Linked DNA regions of Homo sapiens: region 1 is linked to region 2. The links are contacts of gene promoters, found by promoter capture Hi-C in blood cells and fetal thymus (Javierre and others, 2016). All regions are on one chromosome and are shown on one strand. Each heading gives the region's core, a stretch centred on a gene start or on the middle of the fragment in contact. The rest is flanking DNA. Distances are from core to core; before and after follow the strand shown. Region 1 overlaps TRMU (tRNA mitochondrial 2-thiouridylase). Region 2 holds the start of LINC00899 (long intergenic non-protein coding RNA 899).

Region 1 (6,754 bases), core at 149-2,648, 290 kb after region 2:
GAGGGAAGGGTTTCTCACGGATCTGCGGCGTCCACATTCACCTGTGAGACCGTGGACACTGGTGAGGGGAGCTGGGATCGCCGGGCCGGGGGCCTGACCTCTGCACACGCTGTGGCCGCCCGGTGGGAGGTCCTTGTCCTCCCCACTCAGCAGACTGGACAACTGCCGCGCGGCGGGTCTGCTTGTTCAGCGTCTCCTGTGTTCTCCGCTCGCTGGAGGACAAAGTTTTCTCCAGGAGCATTTGCATTTCTTCCGGCATCTAAACGGAGCCCCACGGGTGCTTAGCATTCCTCGGGCCCGGCGCTGAAATGAGCACTTGTTTAACTTCACCTGTGTGGCTCCCCGCGGGAGGCCTCATTCACAGAGTCACGTTTGTGGAGCTCTGCTTTGCGCCATCTTTGGCTCCTGACCTTGGGCAAGTGAATTAAGCCGTCCCCTGTAAAATTCGGCTAACACCTGCCTCACGGGGTGACTGGAGGGATTAGATGACATAGTACATACTGATGAGTACGTGCTCAGCACATACGAGGTACGCAGAAAACAGTAGTGGCTATTAGTTTATATTGTTAATAACCATAGCTATTATGGTAGGTACAGTAAGTGCCAAAGAGAAGGGTAGGCGGACCATAAGCAGAAATAGTTGTGAGGAAGGGAGAGTGGAGGAAAGCATCCTAGAGATGGAGGTGCTCAGCTGAGTCGAAAGAAGAGTAGGATGTCACTAAGCAGAGACTTGGAGGTGGAGGCGGCCCTCCCGGCACAGTCAGCAGTGCAAGCAGAATCACAGAGGCCTGCAAGTGTGGGCTGGTTCTGGCCAGATGGAGATGGAAGGAGAGGAGCCTGGAGCACGTTTAGCCCTGATTATGGAAGATGCTATACCAGGGGCTTTAGACTGTTAGGTAGACATTAGTCTGGTTGATCTGGGATAGGGGTGGTCTTTCGCGTGTGGTGGTGTAGTTTTGACAAAGCTTTGTCATCAAATTTCTGTTGTTTTGGGTACTATATGAAGCCTTCTTCAGCAGTCATTTGCCCTGTCTTTCATTACATTCAGCCTACCTAAACGAACCAGCTTTCTCATACAGGGTCTGCACCTGTGTAGTTTGCTAAGGTGGTGTAGGGCTAAAGTTGGCCTTTCCAATATTTGGGTGAATATTTTGTTACAATCGAAAAGGTAGAAAATAGGTCATAAACTAGGTGGTACAGCTCTTACAAAATATCGAAAATTTTAATTATCTTTATATCTGATCACTTAGAATCTAAGTCTTAGATAGTAACTAGAAATAACTTTTGAAAAGAGTTTCCTTTTTTGATAACTGAATGGTGCTTTGAAAAATTTTGTTGAGTTTCGACTATTCCTTCGTGTATTCCACACACACTGGCTGATCCCCTCCTGCTAGGTATTGTGCTGATACATAGATGGGGACACAAAGATGAGAAAATACCACCTCGTTAATCTTGGGGACTCAGGCACCAAGATGGAAACCGGATCCCTGAAGCCACATGGCAAAGCAGGGACTGCCCGGCAGGCCAGGCACAGAGGCACAGGAGCACAGCGTGTGGGGAACTTCTCAGAGCTCAGAAATCACTGCCGTTTTACCGAAGGTTGATTTATGTATTCTCTTTAATTGACCTTCCCGCCCGCAGGTTACCAGGTGACAGGGGTGTTTATGAAGAACTGGGACTCACTGGATGAACATGGGGTCTGTACTGCCGACAAAGACTGTGAAGATGCTTACAGAGTTTGCCAGATCTTAGACATCCCTTTCCATCAAGTGTCCTACGTAAAGGAGTATTGGAATGATGTGTTCAGGTGAGTGCGGGTCACAGCACAAAGGAAGCTTCCTCACACTGTGGATCCTTGCAGTGGAAGGATCCGGTAACCAGCCAGACCGACGCCTGTGCTGCAGCCCAGCGCTCTCCCTCCACGGTGGTGCTGAAGACTGCAAGAGGCCTCAGCCACCCTCGGGGCTCTGTGTTAGAGGCGAGGCCTGGACCCCACAGCACACCCAGCTCTCTCACTCCTGTCATTTTGCCACTTGCCTGAAGTCTCTTTAATGCTTTCTTGGACCTTGAGCTGTTTCTGTTGCCCAGTTAGGATAGGGGAGCTAAGGCTGAGGGCTCCCCTGGAAGGTGAGCACCAATGCCTGTGTGCTATGTGGGTCAGCGATTAGGGGATTTCTGAGAAAGAGGTGATACATGGCCTGTGCCTCTGAAAACAAGAAACAAACAAAAACTTTTCTAAAATCCAATATAATCTCAATAATTAAGTGCTGTGTGCTAGGCGTGTGCCACATCTAGGAACATTAAGATGTCTTCACTGTGACCTGGCTCTGTAGGAGTTTGCGGTCTAGTTGGGAGGACATTATCTTCACAAGAGGTGACAGTGATGCGTGGCACGCAGGAAGTACCAGTGATGCTATCAGTCACTGAACCCAGAGGAGGGAGAAACTTGCAGTGTGGAGTAATCAAGAAGGCTTCACCGGAGAGGAGGGGTTGCAAACAAAGTTGTAGAGAAGGGACTCCAAATGGGGTAACGAGAGCAGCGTGAAGGGGAGAAGAAATGCTGATTGTGTATTTCAGGACCGTTGTAAAGTTTGGCTGGACTTTTGTTCCTGCAGTGGAAGGAGTGTAGGGCTCATCCTCTGGTGAGCCCTGACTGTGATGAATGTCGGGCAGTTGTCGAAGGCGTCTGACACAGCAGGCCATGTGCGCGGGACAGGCTGCCCCTGCCTGAGTGGGCTTTAGGGGCAGAAGAGCCTTGGGTTGAGTCCTGACTGTAGCTTATTATATGACCTTGGGCAATTTACTTGACTTTGTTTTTTTAATTGAAAAAAATTCTCTTTTTTTCCTGCCAACAAAGACCCAGAAGAGATACTTGACTTTTCTAAGCCCCAATTTTCTCATCTTTAAAATGAGGATAACACTGATGCCTCACAGGGTTATGAAAGAATTGAGATTAGGTTCTAGTATGTATGCCTGGTATATTAGTAAGCAGTCAATAAACATAGCTGTTTTTCTTTTCTATTTTTTTTTGAGACAGAGCCTCGCTCTGTTGCCCAGGCTGGAGTGCAGTGGCGCAATCTTGGCTCACTGCAACATCTGCCTCCCAGGTTCAAGCGATTCTCATGCCTCAGCCTCCCAAGTAGCTGGGATTATAGGCATGCACCACCACGCCCGGATAATTTTTGTATTTTTAGTAGAGACAGGGTTTCGCCATGTTGGCCGGGCTAGTCTCAGACTCCTGACCTCAGAAGATCCACTCGTCTCAGCCTCCCAAAGTGCTGGGATTACAGGCGTGAGCCACCACGCCAGCCTGCTATTTTTATTTTCATTATTAAAAAGATGAGTCTGGGGAGCTAAGCTATGAGGACGCAAAGGCATAAAAATGATATAATGGACTCTGGGGTGAGGGATAAAAGACTACACATCGGGTACAATGTCCACTGCTTGGGTGACGGGTACACCAAAATCTCAGAAGTCACCACTGAAGAACTTATCCATGTGACCAAATACCAGCTGTTGCCCAAAAAACCATTGAAATAACAATAAAACGAAATTTAGAGAGATTAAGTAAATTGACTATGGTCACCTAAATAATCAACGGAAGAGCTTGAATATGAACCCTCTGTGACTCTATGCTATAACATATGGGTGTCGTATATATTAACAACATGGACAAAACTGATGGCTGAATTTTCCTGGGGAAAGTTACCTGTAGAATGCATGATAAATGCATTAAAAACTTATCTGTAGAATGCATGATAAATGCATTAAAAACTTCTGCAGTTTTCTCGGGGACATAAGAAAAAAAAAAGAGTGTGGCGGCCAAATACAGGATAAATCTGGGGGAAGACCAAAGGCAGAGAGTCTCAGGAAGTGCTGTTGCTGGAGATTTGGACTTCATGGGGAGGGAGTGTGGGAGTGGAAGGTGAGGGCTGGCTTGTTGGACCCAGAGGACAAGTCCACCGGGCAGTAGATCTGAGGTGCTTGTTAAACACAGACCTGGACCGAGGTCTGGGGGCGGCCCTGGAATCTGCTTTAATAAGCACTTCAGCTGTGCTGGTGGTGTGGGGGGTTGTCAGGGTCTTTCTTTGAGAAAAGGTGTGATGCGGCTTAGGGACTGATGTGTGTGGGAGACCAGAGAGGAGAGGAGTCAGCAGTAGTTTCAAGATCAAGGCTGGGTGGCTGGGGAAAGCTGGTTTAGGGGATTCCTCATGAGTACTGTAGAGTTTGAGGGGACAACAGGGAATCCAAGTGAGCTTACACTTCACCTGCCAGCACAGCTTTTTCAGAACGTACGAGTGGATGCGATTTTTGAAGTTTAGCTCAGCTGAGGCCAGATAGGAAGAGTGACTTGAATAGTATGGCAAATTAGGAGCGGAGCTGGGATTAAACCCCAGAATTAGGAGCGGAGCTGGGATTAAAACCCAGAATTAGGAGCGGAGCTGGGATTAAACCCCAGAATTAGGAGCGGAGCTGGGATTAAACCCCAGAATTAGGAGCGGAGCTGGGATTAAACCCCAGAATTAGGAGCGGAGCTGGGATTAAACCCCAGAATTAGGAGCGGAGCTGGGATTAAACCCCAGAATTAGGAGCGGAGCTGGGATTAAACCCCAGAATTAGGAGCGGAGCTGGGATTAAAACCCAGCTTTCCAGGCCAGTGCTTGCTGCCGCCTTCTGGCGCTGCTTGATAGGGACTGAGAGAAGGAGGCGGCCGGGTAGAGTCTTTTCCCATCTCTGGGGCTGCCCCCGAGGTCGCCCCTGGCTCCAGCCAGCCTGCCCTCTGCCCTCGCCCAGTACCAGCTGCCCGTGGAGGCATTGGTCTTTCCGCTGAAGACTCACTTCTCTAGTAGGGCTCTCTAGCTCAGAGATTTCTTTTGCATTCTTTCATTCAAGACCCACTGGCCTTCAAGGATCAGAGTCCAGATACGTTTTAGCTGCTGAGTCTTTTAAATCTGTCTCCCTCCCGAGGCACATGAAAGGCTTCTCTTCTTTCCAGTTAGAGAAGAGGCTGGGCTACTCCATTGTTTTTGCTAATGCCAAAACACACGCCTTCCCATCTGCTGTTTACGAAAGGGTTAACAGTGTGTCTTTTCAGAAACTGATTTTAATGTTCAGCCTCTTCAACATTTATTGATGACTGTGATATAGAAAGTTTGTTGGGTCTAGGACACAGACACAGATTGCACCTTAAGTAGTTTATAGTTTAATGAGCTTCCTGGTAACTTTCTAATAATTAAAGCAAAATGGAAAGAGTGTAATAATATCAAGTGTTGTTGCAAATGTGGAAAAACATGAGTTTTTATGAACTTCTAGGGGGACTGAGAAGTAGGAAAACAGTTTGGTGCCTGCTAAAGTGGAAGATATCCAAGGAACCTCTGACCCTGTGCAGATCTGTGATATGTCTGCAAAACACAAACCTCTTGATCAGCACTGGTTTTTTTTTTAACCCTTGTTGATTAATAGAGAGTTTTAGGTTAAATGAAAAAAATCACTTATACCAAAAATACACCCATTTTTAAACTCCCAAAATAGGCATCATAACCCTCTTGAAGTGAATCCTCGAAGACTATGAAATTCTTGGTAAGTTTTGCTGGTATCATGGCATCTTTTTCCCATGTTCAGTCAGTCTGTTAGAGCAGAAGTTCACTGAATTAGGATAGCCTGATCCACTTTAAGCACCCAAGAGTTTGCTAGTTCTCAGAAGTGTGTGTTTGTCACCTGAGGATAGTATTTTTGGTATATTTGCCCAGTGACGCAGCATTCCAGGCTGAGATTGCAGAATGGCTCATGGAGCCCTTGTGTAGGGAAGCCTCTGACTGTGTTTCTCCTCTGTTCTCATCACGGCAGTCATCCTCACGGAAGAAGGCTTCTGTGACAAAGGTGTGGGGGGTTTTCCCCATACAGCAAGCAGTGGACACCGACTGGGTGTCCTCTGATTCAGTTCCGATACCATCTACTTGGAGATAGTGCTGGATCCCAAAGGTTGGGGGTTCAGTCCCCCAGACGGACTCCCCCCACAACAGCAGTCGAAAGTATGGGCCTCTAGAACTTATGACCAACTGGCTTCCAGTTGGGATTCCCATAACTTCCTCTTTGGGTTCAATTATTAATAATTTGCTGGAGTGGTTCACAGAACTCAGAAAAACACATTTACCAGTTTATTATAAAGGATGTTGCAAAGGATACAGATGAAGAGACGGGTTGGGTGAGGTATGGGGAAAGGGTCATGGAGTGTCCACACCCTCCCTGGGGACCACCCTCCAGGAGCCTCCACAAGTGTAGCTGTGCAGAAGCTCTCTGAACCCAGTACTCCTGGGTTTTTATGGAGGCTTCATGACATCGCCATTCCTTCCCCCAGGATATACAGTGGGACTGTGTCTGGGGAGGGTCTTAAGACCCACAGTCAGAAAGGTAGACGCTTGTAATCCTAGCACTTTAGGAGGCTGAGGCAGGAGACTTGCTTGAGGCCTGGAGTTCAGTATCAGCATGGGCAACATGGCAAGACCTCATCTCTATAAAAAAAGAAAAGGTTGCAGTGGGCCAGGTGCGGTGGCTCACGCCTCTAATTCCAGCATTTTGGGAGGCTGAGGCGGGCAGATCACTTGAGGCCAGGAGTTGGAGACCAGCCTGGCCAACATGGTGAAACCCCGTCTCTACTAAAAATACAAAAATTATCTGGGCATGGTGCTGCGCACCTGTAATCACAGCTATTCGGAAGGCTGAGGTGGGAGAATCTGCAAGGGAAGTCTAAAGG
Region 2 (7,346 bases), core at 3,867-6,366:
AAGGGGCTCTAGGGAACATTTTGTGGTGATGTTTTCTTTCTTGATCGTGGTGATACATGTCACGGTTGCATACATTGTCAAAACTCATCGAACAGTAGAGGTGAAAGGGATTTTGCTGCATGGAACTTATTCCTTAATAAGGTTGATTTCAAAAATTAACTGGTATTTATACTTTATTTTTCAAATCTTGTAGAAAATAATGACATAAAATGCTCACAACGTATTCAACAAAAAGACTGTAAAATAACCTATAGTATGATCTAATGATTATATATACATGAATATATGTATGCATTTATAACTTACGATATGGTCCATTCATATAGATATGTGTACACACACACAAACACATATATGCATGCGCACATATATACACATACAGTTTGGAAAATATAGCAGAAGGACTTTCAACCAAATGCATTCAGTAATTACCTCATGGGTAATTGTTTTCTTTTTATTTTTTAATTCTAAATACCCTCTTAGTTTTTTCTTAATTCTAAATATCCTCTTAGTTTTTTTTTTTTTTTTTTGTACTTTTCTGTAATGAACACTATTTTTGTGGAAGAGAGTCTTTTTTGCTTGCTGTATTTTTCTTTATTGTTAATTGACAAATAATTGTATGTATTCATGAGGTATAATATGTTATATATATAACACTTTTCTTTTTATAAACAAATAAAAACAAACATCTCTCTTTTTTTTTTCCAGCTGTAGCAGGCCAGGGACATGGGGCTGGGCCCTGGACAGGGTGGTGAGGACATCCCGGTTCCCACGAAAAGCAACCGCCTGGCAAGTCTGGAGCAGGCGAAGAGGGAGTGAGGGGGTGTGGCTCGCTCCCCAAGTTCTTTGGCTCAGCTTCAGTGCTGGGTCATTCTTGGGGACTGCTATGCCCACTGGGCACTGCAGAACTTCTGGTGCGTGTGGCTAAGGGGAGTCGGGAAGAGCCCTGTCCCTGGACCAGACCTTCCTGTTGGGAGTACTGGGACCCAGTGACCTTGTGCACCTTTCCTGAAGCTTCTGGGCCCCAAGTGGTCGAATGCAGAGTGGGCTGGGGAGTCACAGACTGTGCTTCCTGCTTTCAACCTCCGTTCCAGGTTCCTGTGCGTTCCGTGGGCCCATCCACCTGGCTGGGCTTGGCTAGGCTGTGACCTTCTCTGAGGACAGGGCTCTGCCTGCATTTGGAGCTGCTGGGACCTCAGTGTCACCCCCCACTCTCGCCAGCTGGCCTCACAAAGGTGCCCAGGAGGAGACCTGATTGCCGACTCCTTTCCCCTCCCTGGCTGAGCAGATTCTACAACAGCCTGTGGAAATTAAAATAAGAGCTTAAAACTGTCAAAAAAATTTTTTTTAACCAAGTCACAAATGGGAAAGCTGAGGCGGCAGCAGGTTAAGGACACTTTGTGATGTAGCGTTCTCTCCCAGTGCTTTCGTACTGTAAACATCACAGTCCACGGTCCCTGTGAACAGGCAGCCACAGAGACTGGGTTTAGACTTGCCGGGGAAGGCTGCATCCAAAGTGGGGCCAGCTCAGAACTATTCCACCACATGGGGGGCCATTAGTTCTGCTCAGTTCTGTGGGGCCTCACTAGTGTTTCTATTTAAAAATAAGTCAAGGTAAAAGAAAAAGTTTCAAAATGTAACAGTCACGTATCTATTTCTGTAATTGTAAAGAAATACACTGTCATGTGACGGCTGGAGGCTCTGGAGCAGAGGGCCTAGGAGGAATTTTTTTTCTTTTTCTTTTTCTTTCCTGAATTCTCCAAACCGTCTATCACAGTGTGTATTGCTTTTATAACGGGAAGAGATAAAATAGACTTACATTAAAAATAATCAAACTGCACCTGTGCCTACATGTCAAATGATAAACGTGACAATCAAAGGCACTTTTTATTTATCGAATACCTGGTTCATGCCACATCTCCTGCTAGGCCCTCCCAGCGTGCTGGCTCCTCAGAACACCCTGCAGGTGGGAGCTGGGCACCAGGGTCCCTGAGGCAGCATTCAGCACCCACGTGGCAGAGCCAAGGCTGGACAGGGATGATTCCAACATCCAGGATTGTATTATGCTTATAACGACTTCCTGCCTGTTTGTATTTAAGACAAGGTCTCTCACTGCAGCTTTGACCTCCCGGGCTTGAGCAGTCTTCCCACCTCAGCCTCTGGAGTAGCTGGGAGTTACAGGTGCACACCCCCATGCTTGGCTAATTTTTGTATATTTTGCATAGACAGGGTTTCGCCGTGTTGCCCAGGCTGGTCTGGAATTCCTGGGCTCGTGCGATCCACCAGCCTCGGCCTCCCAAAGTGCTGGGATTACAGGCGTGAGCCACAACGCCCAGCCCCTGTCTCTTAAAGGTGAACATTTTCCCTAAATACAATGATCTTCAGTTAAAATATTTGTATCTTACATAGAATCTGGAATTATTTCTGTAAACAGAATTTAGTAAAAGAAATATAAAAATCAGCTGGGCACGTTGGCTCACGCCTGTAATCCCAGCACTTTGGGAGGCCGAGGTGGGCGGATCACAAGTTCAGGAGATCGAGACCACCACCCTGGCCAACATGGTGAAATCCCGTCTCTACTAAAAATACAAAAATTAGCTGGGCATGATGGTGCGCACCTGTAGTCCCAGCTACTCAGGAGGCTGAGGCAGGAGAATCGCTTGAACTCGGGAGGCGGAGGTTGCAGTGAGCCAAGATCGCACCACTGCGCCACTGCACTCCACCCTGGTGACAGAGCAAGACTGTGTCTCAAAAAAAAAAAAAAAAAAAAAAAGGAAAAAGAAAGAAAGAAAAAAAGAAATATAAAAATCATAGATTTTTACCTTATTTTACCTTATGACACTGTTGACCAACAGCCAAAGTCAGAATCAATTATGTAACTCTCAGAGCCTAGAACAAAATGAAAATATGGGTTCCCTTGTTCAAGAATGACTAAGAATTTTAAGACCGGGGACAGCCAAACATTGAGTGTGGGGCCCTTCTGCACACCGGCCCTCTACCACTGGGCAAGCCACACAGCCACAAAGTCAGCCCTGGACAAGTTATTGATAGTGTATGATAGAACTAAGGTGACGGTTCCCTTTGGGACACACTCTAATCACCAGTGACCACCAGTCAGAAAACAAATGGGCTCAAGCCGCAGGAAGATGAGCCGTTCCCAAGGCATTTTCCAATCCAAAAAATAGCGGTCGCAGCTCAGGAATGAAGTTCCCAGTGAGGATGCAGCGGGAGACACAGCCAGCCTTCCCTCCCCAGGAAAGGGCCAGGCCCTGCATAGGAGCTTTCATTAAAAACCAGGGAGGCTGCAGATTCTCTTGAAATGACAACACGCTCGTGCCACACCTCGATAGAGCTTCAGTCACTCTGCTGTGGAGCGTGCGAGGCTGACCATCCTAGGCCTTGGGGAGAAATCATGACAGCTGATGCCAGTGCTTGTTACTGGGAAAACACAGTAAGAAACTTCATCCCTAAATGTTTATACCTACTATGTACTCACAAAAATTTAAAAAAAGATTTAGTATGAAAATGTAAAGTATCTCATTAATCTTTATCTTGATCGTATGTTGAACTGATAATATTTTGGATATATTGGTTTAAATAAAATATATTAACTAAAAAAAAAAAAAAGGAAAACTTCATCCCGCCGCCTCTGAGAAAGGATCTTGGGGTTCATTGGCAGGTAAATGCTCCCCCAAAGGAGGTCCACTGTGGATGCTGGAAACGAACTGTCAGCTGACAAGCATCTGTAGCTCTGAAAACAAGGGCTCCACACATTGTCCCAGCCAGCGCCCCACCAGCCCATCCCCATTACCTCTATGTCTTCAGCCCCACGTCAGGTTCTGGAAGTTTCCAGGGGGAGTGGACAGTACCCTCAGGGGCTCTTGGGGCTGAGACCTCTTCCATGAATCACGTATGGAAGCCCAGGACCAACCTCAGAGAGGATCATGTCTGAGAAGTCGTTTGAGGGGAAAAATATCCACTTAAGAGAGAGGTTCTCCAGCCCTTTGGAGCATCACACACGTTTGTGGGACAAAAGACAAATATTCCTCCCACCCCAATCCCCAACCAGGCTCCTTGTTCATTTTTCTTTAAAAAACAACAACAAAAAAAAAATCCGCATTCTCCCCAGCCTGAAATAGTGCTCTGGAGGAGCTGGCCTGGCCCGGAGTGTCTTCTCCGTAAACACACCTGGTGAGGAAGAACAGGAAGGACGGACAAAGGGAGGCCTCAGGCCCAGCTGGCAGCCAGATCTGTGCCTCCCAGCGCCTCCAGGGCCCTTGCAGTCTCGAGAGATGTGGCTTGGCCACTTTTGCAGATTCCCAGGCCTGGGGCCACTCAGTTGCCTCCCCCAGCCCAGGTGTCTCCTCGGGACCCTTGCCTGGGAGGGTTTGAAGCCAGGCAGGGAAAAGAGGGCAGAAAATGGTGGTGCCGGGGAGCTGGGCCGGGCCAGCAAATCATTCCGCAAGGTGGAGAACTGCAGGCTGAGGGCACCGTGGGCCTGGGCCCGGGACCCAGCATGGAACCCCTTCTCCTGGAGCACCAGGGGTCACAACAGTCCCTCCACTCCAGGGATCACGGGTGACCCACGGCCGGGTGCTTTGGGGACGAGACAAAGACAGCGTGTTCCTCAAGCCCCTGCCTACCGCTCCGTCACTGGGGCCATGGTCTGCGTGCCAACAACCTTTTAGGAAGCATCTTGTGCCCAACCTCACCACCCCGCAAAAAAACCTGTGTCCAAAACACTTGGCAGTGGGGCTTAAAACGCTCAGGTGCCCCGAGGAGGCGCCGGGAGATGAGCCCAGAGCGGTGGCTGGCGAAGGCCCCAGCAGGACTGGGGCGTGGAACTTGCTTGTTTACCTAAGAGAAAAACACGACGAAAAAAGCTTCTGGGTAGAATTGGAAGTTCTGGGGCTCTCGGCGCCGCGGCCTCCGCGCGGTTCTCTTCCTCCCCTCCCCGGCCTGCTTTTCCTCCTTCTTTCCCTCTTTGTTGCCAACCTCGGAGCCGCGACTGAAACCCAGCCCAGCGTGTCCGCGAAGCCCGGAAACTTCCAGCTCCGCGACTGTGCAGAAAGTTGGGGGGCGCGGCCGGGGTGACAGCAGCGCTTCGGGGGCGGCCGCGGCGGCCACCCGGACCTCGGCCTCCCGCGCCTCCCGCTGCCCCAGCCGCGCCCGGGGACCTCGGGCAGCCCGCGGGCCGGACGTGAACTTGACCCTGCGCTGTGCCCGCCTGGACCGCGGCGCGCTCGGGACGATCTGGTAAGCGCTCCCCCTCCCGCCCTCGCCCGGCGGCGCTGGGGTCCGGGTCGGGGTCCGGGCTCGACTGCGAGGGCGTGTCCCGGGGTGGCGGGCGCCGGGGCTCCTCGGCCGCTGCACCGGAGCGCACGGCCGAGCCCGCGGCCCGGCCCCCGGCGAAGTCAGCCCCCAGCCTCCCAAACAAAGACTCGCAAAGTTCGGAAGAGAATCTTTCCCGACATTTTCCCTCCCCTCGGGCTCTGCGCTGCGGCCATCAGGGCTCTTAAAAGAGAACCGAGAGCTCTCTGGTTTTCTCCTGGTGTTTTCTTCCCTGCGCTTTGCCCCCCACCTTTGGCTGGAGGGAAGGAGGAGGGGGCATGGATGCCCCTCGGGCCCTCAGGTGTTGACCCTCCGAGGCCAGGCTGCCCAGGGGCAGCACAGGAGGTGAGGGCCTGTGGGATGAGGGACCCCCGACAGCACAAGGAGGCAAGCCCCTCGCCGCTGCAATGCTCCGGTCCTGGGGCTCAGGTGGAAGTTGCTCCTGATCCCCCCACACCCCCAGCACCATCCTGAGTGACTTCCCTTGACCGTCCTGGGTGACCATCCTGAGCAAGACTCCCTGGCCACCAACTGTCCTGTCGGCTCTGCTTGGGGCAACCACAGTGCCAAGTGAGCCTGGCAGGTGCTGGGTCACAGGACAGCCATGGACAGGGCCTGGGGAGGAGGAGAAGCTGGGGCCCTGTAGAGCCTGTTCCTTGGGGAGCAGGTGAGGGACCCTGCTGCCTCCCCTATTCCTGTCTGCAACAGGCCCAGCCCATACCTCCAGCTAGCTTCTCTGCATGCCACTCTCTCCGCCTGAGACAAGGCCTCTGTCCCTGTGACTGGTCTGATCCCTGGGGGGCACTCCTGGGATAGAAACCTACCCCACCAGTCGGCGGTGGCAAAGCCCTGGAAACTCACAGACCTGTCCTGGGCCTGGGCCTCCACAAGCCTCCCAGTTTGATCAGGTGCCCCCAACCACAGCAGGGACCATCTGTCAGGTCTTACTCCCAGTGGTGGCCAGGTCCCCAGCCTTCCAGAGAGCATTGCTAACTTGCCTCCATCCCTGGGTGCCTACGCTCCCAAAGTCCTCCTCAGGGGAGCACCCAAGCCGAGAGGGCTGGCCAGCCAGAATCTGAGTGGGTCACCCCACCATGTCCCTGGACTCTCTGGCAGGGCTGTCACAGGGCAGCCTACAGGCGTCAGTTGGAGCACAGAGGGTGTTTGCAGTGACGGCAGGGGACAGAGTGCCCAGTTGGCTCTAGCCTGTTGCTGCCATGAGGATAAGGGCTGAGGCTGTTAGAGCTTCTGACTTCAGAAGAAATCCAGATTTGTACATGAAATGTCCAAAATTTGAGCACATTGCAGGACAGAGGAAACACTCTGGGGTTGAACCCAACCCATGCCCCCACCCCGAGACTGCAACTCCTGTGTACGCCTGAACTGGTTAGTGTTCAAAGAAAGCAGATTTCTTAGTGACCCTGGCCCCAGCCCAAGATTTGAGCAGGAGACCCCGGGGATCTGGGGAGCAGGGAGGCAGGAGAGTCTGTATCTCATGGACCCAGCACCACAGGGAGGGTCGGCCTCCACAGGCATGAACTGTCCAGGTAATTAACACTTGCTCGAGCCCACTTAAAGTTAAAATCTCCCTAAAATGAGGAACCTGACCTGCCCCATCCCCAAACCCTCTGGGGGACCTTCTATACCCGCCCAGGGTATAATGAAGGAAAGATAGGATGCAGAAAGTGAACCTGAACTTGAACTTTCTTCATGTCCCAGGCAGTAGAGTCGCAGCATACCAAAAATCCTGGGCTTATAGGGAAGTTCTGCATTGAGGCAGGCCTGCCTCCACCTGCCAGCGCTACCTCATTCTAGCTGGGTAACCTCACCTCTCTGGGCCTCAGTTTCCTCACTCATAAAAGGGGCTTAATAAGAGTTCTGCCAGACAGGTGTGGTAGCTCACACCTGTAATCCCAGCACTTTGCGAGGCCGAGGCAGACAGATCATGAGGTCAGGAGTTCCAGACCAGCCTGGCCAACACGATGAAACCCTGTCTCTACTAAAAATACAAAAAT

What was found. The method cuts DNA at HindIII sites, captures the fragments that hold promoters and counts their contacts. A CHiCAGO score of 5 or more calls a contact.
Region 1: a fragment that was not itself captured here is called in contact with the fragment with the promoter of LINC00899 in region 2 in 1 of 17 cell types (total CD4 T cells); the score reaches 5.1 in total CD4 T cells.

The regions. Positions count from the first base shown.
Region 1 is chr22:46,336,138-46,342,891 of GRCh38, forward strand. TRMU (tRNA mitochondrial 2-thiouridylase) reads left to right here. Exons shown (of 11, transcript NM_018006.5): 2 at 1,642-1,807. Among named protein-coding and RNA genes, the nearest start is that of TRMU, 3.8 kb to the left of the region's middle. RefSeq lists an enhancer at 1-166 and a silencer at 1-24. The HindIII fragment of the contact is 870 bases long and covers 964-1,833 here.
Region 2 is chr22:46,039,752-46,047,097 of GRCh38, forward strand. LINC00899 (long intergenic non-protein coding RNA 899) reads right to left here and starts at 5,117. Exons shown (of 4, transcript NR_027036.1): 1 at 4,858-5,117; 2 at 3,812-3,948; 3 at 2,823-2,889; 4 at 156-1,301. It overlaps LOC124905135 (collagen alpha-1(III) chain-like), which reads left to right and starts at 4,893. Exons shown (of 2, transcript XM_047441696.1): 1 at 4,893-5,256. LOC124905136 (a long non-coding RNA gene) reads left to right here. Exons shown (of 2, transcript XR_007068137.1): 2 at 1-686. The HindIII fragment of the contact is 16,362 bases long and covers 4,882-7,346 here.